2 separate regions of the Homo sapiens genome follow, and region 1 is linked to region 2. The links are contacts of gene promoters, found by promoter capture Hi-C in human tissues and cell types (Jung and others, 2019). All regions are on one chromosome and are shown on one strand. The core of a region is centred on a gene start or on the middle of the fragment in contact, and the rest is flanking DNA. Distances in the headings are between cores, read along the strand shown.

Region 1 (3,015 bases), core at 202-2,701, 180 kb after region 2:
CTCTTTTAGTGATTTTTTAAGTGTACAATTAAATTATTATTTACTATATTCACCCTGCTGTGCTATCAAACACTGGATCTTATTCATTCTTTCTAACTATGTTAAAAGTATGGAACACATCACAAATTTGTGTGTCATCCTTGCACAGGAGCCACGCTAATCTCTGCACTGTTCCAATTTCCATATATGTGTGCCATGCTACATTAGTAGAGAGATCCCTACAATACTGTGGCTTAAGAAGAGAGATGTTAAAATTAGCTGGGCGTGGTGGCAGGCGCCTGTAATCCCAGCTGCTTAGGAGGCTGAGGGCAGAGAAATTGCTTGAACCGGGAGGCGGAGGTTGCAGTGAGCCAAGATCCTGCCACTGCACTCCAGCCTGGGTGACAGAACGAGACTCCGTCTCCCAAAAAAAAAAAAAAAAAAAAAAAAAGGAAGAGAGACATTTGTTTTTCTCTCCTGAAATAGTCCTCAGTGAAGCAGAACAGGGTAGGGTAGGATGGACAGCTCAGCCCATCCTCAAAATATGGCTTCTATCTCTGGATCTGTGAGGGCTGTTCTAGCTCCTGCCATTACATCTACATCCCAGACAGCAGGAATGGTCAAAGGAACAAGAAAATACACCCTTATTTCTTTTAAAGGCAAAGCTTGTTAAATAAAAGCACTTATATCCTATTGGCAAAAAGTTACATGGTCTTATCTGGTTGCAAAGATGCTGGGATAATATAATCTATAACTCAATGGTCCTGGGCACAGCTAAAACCTGGGGGTTTCAATATTTTTAAATTTTATTTTATTTTATTTTGAGATGGAGTTTCACTCTGTTGCCCAGCCTGGAGTGCAGTGGCGCAATCTCCGCTCACTGCAACCTCCACCTCCTGGGTTAAAGCGATTCTCCTGCCTCGGCCTCCTGAGTAGCTGGGATTACAGGAGCCCACCACCACACCCAGCTAATTTTTGTATTTTTAGTAGAGACGGGGTTTCACCATGTTGGCCAGACTGGTCTCGAACTCCTGACCTCAGGTGATCTGCCTGCCTTGGCCTCCCAAAGTGCTAGGATTACAAGAGCGAGCCACCACGCCTGGCTGGGGGTTTCATTATTAAAGAAGGAGGAGACTGACTAATATTGTTGTATGTCTTAGCTTGGGTTCTTGCAAAGTAGAGTCTAAGGCAAGGGACTTGGATGCAGGTAGTCTATCTGCATTTACCTATTGACTGATGATATTGATCCCAGGAAGCAGAAGTGAGGTGTGAGAAGAGAGAGACAAGGAAGTGAGAAAGCCTATAAAGTGTGTGCTACTCAGTTGGAAACCATTATGGAAAAATAAGGCCCACTTACACTCGGGATCAGCTGTGGAACTTCATAGACTGTGCTTCAGCATTGTTCCACTGAAGGACAAGGAGGCTGGGGCATTAATCTGCTGACTTCCATCCACTGTTACTTACTAACTCTCCTGCACTTCCAGGCTGTGGCCTGCTTGGGTGTCCCCAAGGGACACCACAGCACCCACTGAAGGTGGGGCACTTGCAGCATGCATGCCGCTGTTCACATTAGTGCCACTAATGTCAGGTGGGCCCAAGGGATGGGGCACAGGGCATCTTAGGCAGGTGCTTCTGGGTAGAACTAACCCTTTCATTTTCCATCCACACCCTGCAGTGAGCATAATGGAGCGTGTGTCCCAGAGTTGGGTGGGGACTGGGAGAATGTTTTTAAAGCACCTGAAGCAGATACTGGCATGTAGTACGTGCCCAGTAATGTTAGTTCTCTTTCCTTCCACTTCCCCTTTGTCACCTTAACACACCACCTTAACATCTTAACAATTAAATTTATCCTATTAACATAAAACATCCTCATTAAGTTCTTCAGCCTTTCTACAGATTTAATAACTTAAGCTTTCATACTAGGGGAAAATATCTGCACATCATAGTTTTTAATTTTTTTTTTTTTGAGACGGAGTCTCCCTCTGTCGCCCAGGCTGGAGGCAGCGGCGTGATCTCTGCTCACTGCAACCACCACCTCTCAGATTCAAGTGATTCTCCTGCCTCAGCCTCCCGAGTGGCTGGGACTACAGGCACGTGCCACCACGCCCAGCTAATTTTTTATATTTTTATTAGAGACAGGGTATTCACCATGTTAGCCAGGATGGTCTTGTTTCTTGACCTCGTGATCTGCCCACCTTGGCCTCCCAAAGTGCTGGGATTACAGGCGTGAGCCACCACGGCCCAGCCAATTTTTAAATTTAATATGAAATATTTATTTCAGATTTTGTGGCCAACTAATGGCTGCACTAGACAGATGCAAAGGTAAAGTGTGTAATAGGATTACCTGAATGAAAGTCTGTATCCATAATGAGAAGACAATCTTATATGCTCTTTAATGCCTCTATTATACCCATAACTGAGAAATTTAACAATTAAAAACAATGTGCCAGGGCTTCACGAAGTCTCTGTAGGTGCATAGGCGCCGGCATAAGAGGTGGCTGCCAAGTCACATTCATTCATAAATTCTCCAAGCGTGCCTATATGAGAACAACACTGTTCTAGAGGTTGTGATTAAGATACGGTCCCTGCAAATGTCAATTTGATAGTCTGTAGGAATGGGGGAATGATTAACCACAGGAGGATAACTACAGGTGCTATAAGTCCTTATGTCACTGAAAGGTTTGGATAGAAGTGGACAGTTGGGCTCAGGTGGAGAATGAAAGAAAGAATTGAGTGATATGTAATGATTGTGTTTATCAGCTAAACAAAATGTTCACAGAGTCTTCAAGTATCTTCTTACAGGTGAATTATTTTAAATTTTATTTTAAAGCGTCATCATACATACAGCCAAGCATGGTGGCTCACACCTGTAATCCCAGCACTTTGGGAGGTTGAGGTGGGCAGATTACTTGAGTCCAGGAGTTCAAGACCAGCTTGGGCAATATGGTGAAACCATGTCTCTACAAAAAAATACAGAAATTATCCAGGCATGGTGGTACGGGCCCGTGATCTCAGCTACTCAGGAGGCTGAGGTCG
Region 2 (2,700 bases), core at 42-2,541:
ACCTCCTAGAAGACTCCAAGGTGTAAATATCCTCTTTAAATGTACCAGTAAGTAGACTAAGTCCTAGAAGAGTATAATTTTTTTTTTTTACAAATAAAGTTTATTGTACTGTTTGGGGGATGGTATATTTATTACTGCTAAAAAAATTACCATTTTGAATTGCTAATTGGCTATAACAAAGATCAGTAATACAAATTTAAAACATTCATAAAACTGAGCTGAAAACATGCTCCCAAGCCTAGTGGGCAGTAAGGAATCTGGCCAATATACTGTACAACTTGAACATTCAGTTCTTAAGTAGTTTACAACATGGTTTAGCCCTCTTTTAATAATAATAATAAAAAGGTAGGAATATCTTGTATTCCTCCCGCTAGTTGGATGTATTAAAGTGCTTTCACAAAACTAAGACCATGGTGTTAACTCAATATAAAAGGTTGAAAAGATGTTCCTTCTTTTCTTCAGAAAGTTAATGTTCCCTCTCCATATTTGTATTTGCTCAAAGATGAAGCTTTGCATCTGGGAAGTCCTTGAGTAGAGTGTCTCAGAAATAGAAAGCCTGGACTCTCAAGGCTTCATTCCTTTGGCCAACATCTTTGGAGCCTCTCCTTTATGCAAAACACAGTGGCCGGTGCCAGGGCAGCACACAAGCGTCCACAGGAGGCAGGCCCTGCTGTGAGGGGCCAGGGAAGGGCCCAACTAGGAGTGCCAACAACCGCCTAAAATACAGCAGGGCGGCTGCACGGTTAACGTGCGTGTAATTGACTACAGCAAGAAGGATGAGGATCTGTCCATAAATGCCAAGTTCCCCTTCCCGTCGAGTCCGTGTCCCCCATGAAGCCCCGGGTCTAGAGAGCTGGGTCTAGAACTCGCCATTCCGCCCTGAGGGTGTCAAGTGCAGCGTGGAGAGACCTGAGGGGGAAACAAAAAGGCCGAGACAGCCGAAAGGACCAAGCCCGCGCGACCCCCGAAGGCGCTGACGCACGTAGGGCGGCCGGGCGGGGGTCCCACAGGCCTTCAGCGCCGCTTTTTGCCGGGGAGGGAAGCCCGCGGTTCTGCGGACCGCGCCGTCGCGGTCGAGGGTCTGCGCCAGGCTCAGGGTAGGGCGAGGGTGTGTCGCCTCCCGTGCGGCTAGGCCCGGGGCTCGGGGGTGGCCTCGCGGCGAAGCCCCGCCCCCGGCACCGCCCCTCAGGCGCGCGAGCCGATCCCGCGCGCGCCAACCCTTTCCCGGGTCATCGCCCCTCCCCTCTTCCGGGCCGCGAGCCCCCTGCGCGCCGCTTTGGGGCTGCGCTCACTCGTGTGCGCGCTCGTCCGCCCGCCAGTCCTCTCAACGCGCGCTTGGCCGCCCGACGACGCGGGAGCCGCACGCGCCGGACGAGGCTCGCTGCGCTCCCTGTTGCCCAGCGCGGGCCCGTTGAGGCGGAGCCCTCAGTTCCCGGCCAGGACACGGTCTGGGCCGCCGAATCTCCGGCCGAAGAGCGGCGGCGGCAGCGGCGGTGAGGAGACCGGGCCGGGGAAAGGCAGACATGGCGGGGCTGTGGGTATCGGGGGAGGGTGGTCCCGTCGCCCCTGCGGCCACGTCGAAGGCTCGCTGGCGGGCGGCGCACCGGGGACAGGGGAGGGGCAGGGGATGGAACCAGGTTGCATGGGCTCCGGCTCGGCGCCAGAGCGGGGCTGCGGGCCGCGAGGGCGGCCCGCGAGGCTTTCCGCGGGACCCTCGGCGGGCGCCTGAGGAAAAAGACGCCGCCTCAGGGCTCCTGCCACGTTTCCCACAGCGCGTTACATTCCGCCTCCGGGTGGGCGACAACCCCGCGGCTTCCCACCCTCTGTCCACCCCCTTCGCGTCGGTGTTTTTTCTGGAGCTCCGCTTGTTTGCTGGAGAGTCGCGCCTCCGGGAAGCCGGGTCCTCGAACCCAGGGCCGCCCGCCGGGGACAGCGGACCCGCGGGGCAGGCGCACCCTGGCGAGGATGTTGTCGGGGAGGCTGGGCATTGGGCGCCAGGGCCCTTCCCCTTGAACTTGGGGAAAACCGGGATTGCAGAAGTTGGGCGCAGCTCAAGGCGGTTCTTTCAAGAGCGGGTGGAGATGTTTGATCCCTCCTCACCTACCTCTCTCAAAACCCCAGCGGGAGAGCCTAGCAGCAGGTTTCGATGGCTTCAGAAAGTCCAACTCTTAGCCCCTTGGAAAATTATTTCCCCTCTTCATGGCTTTGTGGCGCCGCTGAGGTCGGGCCGGGGCTCCTCACCCCACGGGCCAGTCTTCTCGCGCCCTCCACCTTGGGAACGTCTATCAGGAGAAAAATGTGTTCCTAGAAACGTTTGCGATTAGCTTTTCGTTACAAGGGAGGGAAAAGTACAAAAGTTATAAACTCCTGCGAGGCCGAGCTTGATTCTGGATTCCCTTTGGGTTTTATCCACGCAGCCGTGAGCAGAGGAGCCTTGTGGAACAAAGTAGAACTTGAGGAGCAGCCGCCGCGGTGACGAGGTCCCAGGATGACGTCACCGTGCGATATTTAAAATGGGAGCCTTTTGCTCTGAGTGTGGGTGGAGGACGCCTACTTACTCAAGACGCCTGAGGTCTTCTTGGCCCTGCTTGCCTCTGGTGGTTCTTGCCCTGACTGTAACTCTCCCTCTTTCACCTTTTGGTACTCCTAGAATACTGGTGGGAGTGGGCTTATTTTTCAGCTGTTCGAGCTATCATTTCT

The links. The method cuts DNA at HindIII sites, captures the fragments that hold promoters and counts their contacts. A contact is called where the count stands out against the background at its distance.
Region 1: a contact is called between a fragment that was not itself captured here and the fragment with the promoter of BTG3 in region 2, in 1 of the 25 tissues and cell types used here (dorsolateral prefrontal cortex).

What each region holds. Positions count from the first base shown.
Region 1 is chr21:17,428,736-17,431,750 of GRCh38, reverse strand. It overlaps the pseudogene RNU6-113P. Among named protein-coding and RNA genes, the nearest start is that of LINC01549, 8.6 kb to the left of the region's middle. The HindIII fragment of the contact is 3,348 bases long and covers 1-3,015 here.
Region 2 is chr21:17,611,492-17,614,191 of GRCh38, reverse strand. It overlaps BTG3 (BTG anti-proliferation factor 3), which reads left to right and starts at 1,291. Exons shown (of 5, transcript NM_006806.5): 1 at 1,291-1,493. BTG3-AS1 (BTG3 antisense RNA 1) reads right to left here and starts at 2,506. Exons shown (of 1, transcript NR_149073.1): 1 at 78-2,506. It also overlaps a transcript of CXADR not described here. The HindIII fragment of the contact is 18,267 bases long and covers 1-2,700 here.